Regions from separate parts of the Homo sapiens genome. Here regions 1 and 2 are each linked to region 3. The links are contacts of gene promoters, found by promoter capture Hi-C in human tissues and cell types (Jung and others, 2019). All regions are on one chromosome and are shown on one strand. Each heading gives the region's core, a stretch centred on a gene start or on the middle of the fragment in contact. The rest is flanking DNA. Distances are from core to core; before and after follow the strand shown. Region 1 overlaps L3MBTL4 (L3MBTL histone methyl-lysine binding protein 4). Region 2 overlaps ARHGAP28 (Rho GTPase activating protein 28). Region 3 holds the start of L3MBTL4 (L3MBTL histone methyl-lysine binding protein 4).

Evidence for each region. The method cuts DNA at HindIII sites, captures the fragments that hold promoters and counts their contacts. A contact is called where the count stands out against the background at its distance.
Region 1: a fragment that was not itself captured here is called in contact with the fragment with the promoter of L3MBTL4 in region 3 in 1 of the 25 tissues and cell types used here (lymphoblastoid cells).
Region 2: a contact is called between a fragment that was not itself captured here and the fragment with the promoter of L3MBTL4 in region 3, in 1 of the 25 tissues and cell types used here (dorsolateral prefrontal cortex).

The regions. Positions count from the first base shown.
Region 1 is chr18:5,999,023-6,002,703 of GRCh38, forward strand. All of the region lies in intron 16 of L3MBTL4 (L3MBTL histone methyl-lysine binding protein 4), which reads right to left. Among named protein-coding and RNA genes, the nearest start is that of TMEM200C, 110 kb to the left of the region's middle. The HindIII fragment of the contact is 4,141 bases long and covers 1-3,566 here.
Region 2 is chr18:6,882,956-6,886,572 of GRCh38, forward strand. All of the region lies in intron 11 of ARHGAP28 (Rho GTPase activating protein 28), which reads left to right. Among named protein-coding and RNA genes, the nearest start is that of LINC00668, 45 kb to the right of the region's middle. The HindIII fragment of the contact is 4,461 bases long and covers 1-3,617 here.
Region 3 is chr18:6,413,544-6,417,278 of GRCh38, forward strand. It overlaps L3MBTL4 (L3MBTL histone methyl-lysine binding protein 4), which reads right to left and starts at 1,368. Exons shown (of 19, transcript NM_001330559.2): 1 at 1,258-1,368. RefSeq lists a silencer at 871-1,410. The HindIII fragment of the contact is 7,728 bases long and covers 1-3,735 here.

The sequences.
Region 1 (3,681 bases), core at 246-2,745, 410 kb before region 3:
TTAAGCAGAGGATGAAGGAACACTCTTTAGCATGGTGTCCAAGACACCTGACTCACAGTCCCACCTACTGCCTCACCACAAGTTTCTTTCTGTCTCAGATGTGTCTCTGGTGTAGTGCAGCCAGATAGCCACAGAGCCTTGAGGATGCTGTCCTAGTTCTCTGCTTTTGATTATCAAATCTGCCTAGCAGAAACATTTTTCTCATATTTATATTTATTGAAATTCCACCCACTATTTATGGCCTAGTTCAGATGCTATCTTCTCCTGAAAATGTCTGATTCCCACAAAGAGAATCAATTGGTTTCCCTCTTCCAAATGTCTTGGTTTGAGGTTGCAAAGCAGCACTTACCCTATGCTACCCTGTAACTGTAATAGCTGTTTCCACCTTTATGCCCCCACCAAGGAAGGGCTCACTCTTTCTTCTGAGCACGCCCTACCTTCCTCAGAGTGTGCTGTGCTTCATAAAAATGTGTTGAATGGAATGAAAGAAAAGAACATGTTTTTCTATTAAAGTCATTTTAAACATGCTAATCAGCAAGGAATATGGCTGTGAGCATTTCTCCTCATCCTCCTAGAATCATACAAAAACAAACAACGAAGAAAATAAAGGAAACACCATAAATTCCATTTTCAGTGAAACTAGAAGGCAGATAAATTCCCTAGATTCAATATATCTGTAAAAAGGGCCAGAAGCAACTGTGATTGGCTAGAAGATATGCAGGGGAAGGGAAGAAAAGAAGGGCTGAGTGGTGGCCGATCTCCTGGGTGGCCACTGCCAGAATGCAAAGGCACATTCCTTGCTTGTACAAATGGGGACAGGACCTTGGGTGAGCAGGGTTGGTATAAAAGAAGCCCTACTGGACTTAGTTTTGTTCAAGGAGTTAGAGTTTTCAGGGCTACACAGAGAATAGTCCAGAGGAGCCATGTTTGCAGGAAGCACTCTGTCTCAGTGTCAGGCAAGAGAGAGAAACCTTTTAGTTGGAAAGCCTAGCCCTCATTTCCTGTCAATATAGATGTGTGTGAATAGTTAGTTCAGGAAAATTGAACTCATTAAGTAATGAGTGAGCTCAGAAAAAAGAAAGAAGAAAAAGAAAAAAAAATGATATGGTGTTGTTATAAAGATGCCATGAGAAAAATGTGAATGAGACCAGTAAAATCTATTAAATTTTTAAAATGTATCCATAAAAATATTGCCACTGAGGAGATGAAAGAGTGATCAGACATTCTGACATGTTTGGAAACACAAAATAAAGCTTAGTGAGGCAATTATCTCTAGGAAGGAAGAAAATAAAGTAGAAATGTGACAATTCGAGGAAGAGACAGCAAGTCAATAAAAGGCAATGCAGAACTCCAGAAAGAAGTAGAGGAGAAAAATAAAACCATTACAGGAATAGAGATGGAACTCGAAGGAGCAGAAAGGGAGAATGGACCTTGCATAACCCGGAGTCAGGATTATACTCATAAAAGATAAAAATGAGAAAGTCAAGCAAAATGAAATTTAAATTTAAAAAGAACTTAAAAAACATTAGAGAAGGTGATTCAACACATACATAATTAGTGTGTCTGAGGAAAAATCAAAACAATGAAACAGAGCAAATATTTAAATATATAATAAAAACAACCCTTTCCTAAATCTATATATGTGAATGTACTTGAATCTATATATCATAAGGGCATACCATGTGCCACATTCAGTGAATTGGAATGCAATAACAAGACCTATCTTAGTAAAGTTTTTGGAGCTTAAAGATAAACACTCATTACAGCATCCAGTCAAGCATCACATATTGTCTCAAAACTTTCAAAAACAAAGGACAGGAGTGATGTTAGGGAAGATGGTGGGTAGGAAGTGCCAGGAATCTGTCTCTCTGCCTAGACAACAATTGCACTGGCAGAATCTGACTGATAGAACTATTTTGGATCTCTGGAGTCTTGCAGCTTCCGGAGGTCAGCTTAGATGGTGGTAAATCATGGCTAATTTTGGTCAATTTCAGCTCTTAGAACAGTAGCAACTACTCACTTCCCATCCTCCAGCCCTGTGGCAGGCAGCTGTGCCAACAATCTGGGTGCAACTTGCATGTGGCTTTCAAGAACCAGGGTGGGCAATAAGTACCTTGTCCTCCAAATATTGAGGATCTGTGTCCTCATAACTGACTATGAAGGTGCAGGCCAGAGGCCTTTATAGCAATCCCCATTGCCTAAAGTGGCTTCCAGGGTATGTGAAGATAATTGCCTTAAAAAAATTTCCGTCCAGTTTTCCCCTTCTGGGGAGCCAAACATTTAAGGATTAGCACATTTAAAAGCAATAACATATACAAGGGAATTTAGTAAGTCACCATGCACGACCAAGGAAAGCAGTGGGCTCAGAAATGACCTGAGAAGACCTTAAGTTTACACCTCATGCTGATGTCTGGCATGGAGCTACCATAAAACAATTAAAAAACCCCAAACAAACAAAAACCAAAATCAGAAGCAGCAAACCCTGGGGAAGGCGGGGAATCTGATTAATAGAGATACTATATTATGAGATTCAAATGGTCAGTTTCAACAACAAAAAAATACGTGGTATATGAAAACAGGAAAGTATGACCCACTCAAAGGAAAAAAATCAACAGAAAAATAACTAGAATGAAAAATTCACTAGAGGGATACTAAAGCAGATTTGAGTAGAAGTAAGAATTAGTGAATTTGAAGATAAGACAATTGAAATTGAGTATGAGGAATATAAAGCAGTAAGATTAAAGAAAAGTGAAGAGTCTAAGGGATCTGTAGGACAGCATAAGCAGACCAATATACACATTGCAGGAGTTTCTGAAGGAAAAAAGAGAGGGAGCAAAGAGCACAGAGACAATTTGGAGAAACAATGGCTAAAAGCTTCCCAAATTTAAGGAAAGTCACAGATTTACAAATCTAAGATGCTCAACAAACTCCAAGTAAAGTAAACCTCAAGAAGACCCACAATGAGACATACTATAATCGAACTTTCAAAAGCCAAATACAAAGAAGGAATCCTGAAAGCACCAGAACAAAAGTGACTCATCATTACAGGAATCTTCAAGAAAGTTATCGAAGAATTTCTTAGCCAAAACTTTGCTGGCCAGAATGCAGTAGAATGATATACTTAAAGTGCTGAAAGAAAAAAATAAAATCATCAACCTAGAATTCTATATAAGCCAAACTCTCTTGCAAAATTTGAGAGAAACTTAGTAATTTCCAGACAAACAAAAGTTGAAGGCATTCATTTTCAGTAGACCTGCCTTGTAAGAAATGCTAAAGGGAGTCCTTCAAGTTGAAATGAAGGACTCTAGACACTAATTTGAAGGCATATGAGAATATAAAGTTCTCTGGTAAACAAAAATACATAGACAAATATTTAAAAAACAGTATTACTGTAATTTTGGTTCGTCACTTTGCTTCTTATTTTCTACATCATTTAAAAGACTAATGCATAAAAACAATTATTAGCCTATGTTTTTGGACACGTAAAACATAAAGATGTAATTTGTGATACAAGTAACTGAAAAGTAGTGAGAATGGAGCTATATAGGAGCGGAATTTTTGTATGCTATTGAAATTAAACGGGTAGAAATTCAAATTAAAGAGCTACAATTTTAGGGTGTTAAGTGTATAATGTACATGGTCATCACAAAGAAAATAAGTACAGAGTATATACAAAAAGAA
Region 2 (3,617 bases), core at 439-2,938, 470 kb after region 3:
ATGTAACAAGAGAAAAGTTTGGAAAAGTAGAATGGGGGTACATAGTGGGGGCTTTAACTGTTAACCTGGGGAGTTCAGGCATTGCAAATCTAAATATGTATGAGCATGCTAAGTAAATGTTGATTCTACATGGACCAAAAAGGTCTGTGTCCAAACTGAGAGGACACACCCCATCTAGAGACATTGACCACTGCTTGGTTCTCCGTAATGGTTGCTGTGCCAGACTGAGAGCCAAATCCAGGCTTTAATGCGAAAACTCTCAATTTGAGAGTGTCAGGCACTAATTTTTTTTTTTTTTTTTGAGACAGAGTGTCGCACTGTTGCCCAGGCTGGAGTTCAGTGATGCGATCTTGGCTCACAGCAACCTCCACCCCCGGGATTCAAGCGATTCTCCTGCCTCAGCCTCCTGAGTAGCTGGGATTACAGGTGTGCGCCACCACACCTGTCTGATTTTTGTATTTTTAGTAGAGACGGGGTTTCGCCATGTTGGCCAGGCTGGTCTCAAACTCCTAGCCTCAAGTGATCTCCCTGCCTCACCCTCCAAATTGCTGGGATTACAGGCGTGAGCCACCACACCTGGCCCAGCCACTAATTTAAATTTTAAAATGTTGTGTGAACTTAACAGGTGATGTCTGTATCTGCCATTGTACAACCTTCTCAGGTTGGCCAGAACTACAATTTCATAAAAATTACAATGAAAGAAAATAATAGATCCTAAGTTGTATGGCAAAATTTGTCCTAAAAATTATGTAGGTTCTAAATCTTTGAATGTTTTAACTAAACCAGATTCATAAAATAATCTTTTGTGTCTTGAAAGAAGAGAATATTGTAGGCAAGGCAGTCATTTTCTAAGCTTTAATTCACATGCTGTCCGTGACCAGTATCTATTTTCTTTGTAAGCTTACTGGGTTTTTTTAATGAGAAAAACTTGCTGAAAAAGAGAGAAGAGCTACTAATTTCCTTCATTCATTTTTGTTTCAGACATTGTATTTTTTCAGTTCTAGAATTTTCAGTTGGTGCTTTTAAAATACTTTCTGTTTTTCTGTTGAGGTGACCTATCTTTTCATTCATTATAATCATATTTTCCTTCACATCATTGAGCACAGGTACAATAGCTGCTTCAAAATCCTTGTTGGCGGCCAGGCGTGGGGGCTCACGCCTGTAATCCCAGCACTTTGGGAGGCTGAGGTGGGCAGATCACGAGTTCAGGAGATCGAGACTATCCTGGCTAACAAGGTGAAACCCCGTCTCTACTAAAAATACAAAAAATTGGCCAGGCGTGGTGGCGGGCACCTGTAGACCCAACTACTCTGGATGCTGAGGCAGGAGAATGGTGTCAACCCAGGCGGTGGAGCTTATAGTGAGCCGAGATCGTGCCACTGCACTCCAGCCTGGGCGACAGAGCAAGACTCTGTCTCAAAAAAGAAAAAAAAGTCCTTGTTGGCAGTTCTAACACCTGGGTTATCTCAGGGTTGGTCTCTGTCTTCTTTGAGAATGGGTTACACTTTCCTTGTTACTTTGTATGTCAAGTAAATTTAAAGCTTATTCTGAACATTATGAATATAGTCTTTGGAGACTATGGATTCTGAAGTATTTCTCCAAAGAATGTTGTTTGGTTTCTTTTACTATTGTTGCTCTTTTAAGCCGGCAGTTTGCTTGACTGGACTCAAATTGCCAGTGGTCTTTTGGGCAGGAGCTCAACTGTGTGTTCAGTTGTTCAATCCTTCGCCGTGTTACCCCACACACGCATGGTTTGTGGGTCAGCCAGAGATTTGGGTGAAGTTTATACCAGAATTAGGACCTTCCATCTCTGGATCACTCATTTGTTTTTGTTTTTTGGTAGTTTGAATTATGCAAGGAGGATTCAAACCTCTAATTCCAGATCTGTTCAGAGAATCATATTTAAGAAGGGTATATGAATATATTAATTTTCATCCTCCAAAATATTCAATCCTTGTGTTCAAACCATGCCAAATGATTCCCTGACTGTCAGTTACAAAACATACTTTATAGTTTTTGTGCTTTTACCCAAATACTTCACTAAAGACCTAATCGGTATGACTTCGTAATTTTCAGAAACACTGTGTGACGTTGTAATTTTCAGAGACCAATTATCTTCTGTGTAGCATTTACTGCATGCTGTATCATCATTACTGCCTATCTGACTACAGCCAGTACATTTCACTGAAGGGAGAGGTTCTGAGAAATATCCTGAAAGGGTTCACAAAGAGTCCACATTCCTTCGTATGACTTTGAAAGTGAAAAATACTATATTGCAGGTGGTTGATTTGATACCAGCGAACCCTGCAGGAAACCCAGAGTTCTGGCCTGCTACCAGCAGGAAATAATGGCCTTTTTGCCACCTAAGTAAGCTCTAGTTGTAACAAGATTCTCTGAAGGGGAGGATTGTGAACAAGCGCGTGTGTGTGTGTGTTTAAGCTGTCCCTCTCAATACCCTCAAATGGAGCTCAGAGAACACAGAGCCTTTTCCACTAATGTCGTTACTTTCTCTTTTCAAACTTGGCCCCAAACTTGACCGTAAAATTAAAGGACTAGTATCATCATCAATCAAGCCTCAGATGCTTTCATTACATGCTTAATAACTTTCTGGGGAAATAATGACCTCAGGAAAGAGAATACTTGTGACGGGGATGTATTAAATGAATTAACTACAAAACTATTAATCACAAAACAGCGTTGGGCCAGGTTTCCTAAGTAAAATGAAAATGGATTATTTGCCAAATTAAACTTAACTTAAAAGAGCTTCTTAATTTCTCTGAAGTTAATGGAAACACAGTGGTCCCAAGCCTACATCTGCATCTCTTGTTTTTTTCTTCCCCAGAGTTGTTTTTTTTTTTTTTTAATTGCGTTGGAAGATTAGAGACAGTCCTCAGCCTGCAGTTTATGCACTAACATTATGTCTTGTCTGCCCCTAAATGCTTTGCACTGAGACTTGCTCTTAAAGTTTCTATTATTCAGGCAAGCTCACAGCAATGTGTATTTGCTCTTTTCAGTAACATCCTGGACCTGCGTCATTATAAATTTGATACAAGTTATCCACAAATCTACACATGGATTTTTCTTCAACAATATGATCCTCCCTCTCTCCCCATATTGCTTGGTTGTATACACTTGTCATCTACTCCTGAACTCTAGCACGCACAGCTCCAGTAACCTACTAGCTTGTCACAAGTGTTTCCACTGCTATACAGCTCAGTTAACTTCACCAGCAGCTGACTGCCTTCCAGCCATTGAATAGAAATAGATTTTCCTTCAACTTGAGAACTCCCCAGAGATTCCAGAACATAATGCTTTCCTCCAAGAACTCCCCACCAAGACACCATTTTGAAGAAAATACAGAGGGACAAAGGAAAGCCTAGATTCTCTGGTGTATTCTAAATTTTCAGCACAGCTGGTCGTGGATTATCCAGCTGTGGATGGAATCCCTGAGTATAAATGCCAACCCTCTGGCGCCATCTTGTGTCATTACTGAGGAAGAAAATACTCAACAATCTCCAAAGATCCAACTACAGTCATCACCTTCCCTAAGTGTCCATGGAAGATCTAGAATAAGTGTCATAGATCATAAAAGTAAGAGCAAATATGTAGAAAGATAA
Region 3 (3,735 bases), core at 118-2,617:
TTTGTCACCTTAACCTTTTTAGGTGGAATAGATTAGAAAACCGAAGAGCCACACTACACTTATTTCAGCCAAGGACTGAAACTGGAGCCTGCCACAAGCATCTTCTAGAACAGCTCCAACAGAAGGATCCAGGAGATGGGCCACCAGCAAGTCATAGTGGAGTCCAAACAAGTGTGAAGTGAGAGCGAGTCTTCAGCATGGGAATGGCCGAGTGGGTCGTGGTGACCAGCTGCCTTCCTCTGACTGTTAAGTACAGCAGTCTCAACAGTAACAATGACCAGGCCTTCCCTTTATTTAGTTCCACCTCGGGGCATTGGCGCATTAAGAATGTCCCTCTAAAGGCATATGTAAGATAAAGCACACTTCGCACTTTAACCAGTGACTAAGGGAGATCAAAAGCAGGGGACAATACCCACCCGGAATTTGCGACCTCGCGAAAACGCTCTCACCAATCCCGCAGGTAAGTGCGGCGCTGGCCCAGGTGTGCCCAGCTCGACTCGCGTCCACCTGGGACCAAGCGGGCCCAAGAAGGCCCGGAGAGCAGGCGAGGGCGACTGTGGCCGGCGCGCCCCCCGCAGTTCCAGGCGGTGGCAGGAGCCTGAGAGCCGCCGTCCCAGGCTGGCCAGGCGCCCGCCCGCCCTGCGCGCACTCCCTGGGCTCCCGCTCCCGAGGCTGGGCAGAACTCGCAGAGGAAGACAAGGGCAGAAAGCGGGTGGAGGGAGGCAGCGCTCGCCCGTCCGGGCACACGACACTTGTCGGCTGAGGGGGACACGCGGGCAGACGGGGGCGTTAGCCCCAGAGGAAACAAAAGCCAAATGCCCACCGCCGGGCGCTCGATGGCCGGAGGACTGCCTGGGGGCCCTCAGGAGTCCCGTCCCGTCCCGCTCCCCCGGTCCCAGGCTGCGCTGGCTCCAGGGCGCCCAGGTAGCCGCGCCTGGCACCCCGACCCTGCCCTCGCGGCTGACCGAGGCGCCGGGCTCTGCGGCGGCCGCGCCCGTCCAAAGTAGGCGACAAGTGAGGCAGCGCCTCTCGCGGGGAGCCCGGCGCGCGCCCCGGCGGCGAAAGAGAAAGAGAAAGAGCCTGGGCCGGGACCGGGGCTATCCCCAACCGCCACCGCCCCCACCGGCCCGGCCCTCGCCGCGGGAGTCGTGCAGGCCCCTCTACCTGCCCGGGGATGGGGCCACCCCGCGCGGCGGCGGCCGTGGGCACCCACGCGGGCTCGCGACCATCCCACGCGGGCGGCGGCGTCCTTCTTACCCCCAGCGGAGCGGCGCCTGCCCGCAACGCCGACCGAGCTACAGGCGGGGGGCGAGTCGGAGCGCGAGGTTCCGCCAGCCCAGGCTGCGGCGCCGCTGCCCCGCGGTGCCCGGCGGGAGGGGCGCGAGGGTGCACGCGCGGGGTGGGGGCGCGGGAGCCGCCCCCTGCCCGCCCCGCGCGCATGCTCCCGCCGCACCTGCCTCGCTCAGTGTTCCACACCCCGGGGAGCCGGGTGGCGCTGGGCCCGCCGAGGTCGGGGCTTTCCCATGGGAGGGAGGTGGCTGCGGCGGAATTTTCAGATGCGTCCTTCTCTGTATTCGTTCCCTGGGAAGGATTCCCCCAAATCTTGGCTACTTCCTGCCTGCCAGCTTGCTCCCTGGCAGCGAAGTCCCAGTAGCTCACCCATGCTTCATCCCAGCTCTTGGGGTTCACCGTCTGAAGGCTCTCTCCTCCGGATCCCTCTCGGTCCTGCTGCTCGCTCCGATTTTGCAACCTCCCCCACTCCCCTTTCCTGCTCTTGACTTTGCTACTCACGAGTACCTGGATACCATTTCCAAATAAAAGAATACTCTTTCCAAGTGGCAAGCAGTGTTTACTGACCCTGTTCTAACTGCTTGGAATTGAGCAGGAAACAGGAGCTGGGTAGATCCTGCCCTCATGGAACTTATGGCCTTACTGGCTAGCTTTGGCCTTTCTCAAAGCATTGTCTCCCAGTTTGGGAGGACTGTATTAAATCATTTATTTTGGCTTACAAATAAAGGTAGCTGATAATTGAAGACTATATGTTGTGACTTTTGAATGAAATGTTCTTTCATAGGACGCCTTGTGTATAAACCCTAGTATGCAAATAATAAATAGTAGGTACTAAATAAGTATTAGTTTGTTGCTTTCAGCAGGAAATTGAATCATTTAGCAGGATTAACAATGATACCATCCAAAATGATCTTTTTGGTTTGTCGTGGGCTACCATAAACAGAGAATGAAAACTTGCTTTTTAGGTGAGACTGGGCATTGTTGAAACATAATTTCGTGTCCTTACTGAAAAGAGAAATATAAACCCCTTTGCTAATGAAGTTTTTAAACTAGGAACAATGATCATAGAAATTTGTAAGTGCAAACACACGATTTGTGTTCTGTGCTCTAGTCAGTTAAGAAAAATATATTAGCCAGGTATGGCGGCTCACATCTGTAATCCCAGCACTTTGGGAGGCCGAAGAGGGCGGATCACTTGAGGTCAGGAGTTCGAGACCAGCCTGGCCAACATGGTGAAACCCTGTCTCTACTAAAAATACGAAATTAGCTGGGTGTGGTGGCGGGCGCCTGTAATCTCAACTACTCGGGAGGCTGAGACACTAGAATCGCTTGAACCTGGGAGGCAGAGGCTCCAGTGAGCTGAGATAGTACCACTGCACTCCAGCCTGGGCAACAGAGCGAAACTCCAACTCAAAAAAAAAAAAAAGAAGAAGAAAAAGAAAAACAAAAAGAAAAAGATATTAGAGACAAAGAGAAAAAGAAAGAAGTAGAAGACCTCAGTAGCGAGAGGAAAACATTTGAAACTCAGTTCCAACCAATTTTAACATTGTGCTAAGGACTTACAGTGTTGCATTACTGTGACAATGGGCATGCCTGCAGGTACCACCTTTGGTTGGATACTTGTTCACCAGATTGGATGAAATTAGAACGGGACTCAGCAGGTGAGAGTTCCACCTCCCTGCTACTCACAGGAACACGGATACCATTTTTGGTGAAGGATAAAGTGCTTCAATTATTGCAGTGTATCCCCAGTCCATCCCAGAGGTATTTATTTATCATTGGAGATTCTAGGTATTAGTAATAGAGATATCAAAATGTCCCCAGCACAGAAAGAGTTAAGTGCACTTCTGGTTCCAGGAGCCCTTCAGAAAAGTGAATATTGATGTTATAATATATGAAATCAAAGAAGAAAGCTGGATTGAAATCCAAATAAAGTGAATTTACATCAGCTTATCTTCACTTCTTGGGGGGAAACAATTGTTTTTATAACATGTTTATTGACTATATTTGGTTTAAGTTTATGAAAGCAGACACACTGTTTTCAGGGGCTGGGTTTACATAAGGAAAAGGATACACCAATGAAACAAGTTGAAACAGGCAGGAAACCTCATCTACAGCTACTTAAATGTAAGTGCATAGGTGCATAGTGCTGACAACATATGATTCTGTTCAGAGAAGCTGACATCTGTCTTAAACTACACTGTTATTCAAATTTTATGGAAATATAAGCAGGAACGCATTAGTACACTTCTTACAAAATTTTTGAAAGCTGTTGTAGTAAATCCCTTTTATCTGAACGGCTGCAGATTAAAATGAAATAGCCATATTGTTGATTTTTATAACTTTGCTAATGATCCATCATGAGCAAAGGGGTTTATAGCATTGGTAGTTGCTAGGCATTTTACTTTTATAATTCAGTTGAATCCAACCAACTCTCAATGCAAA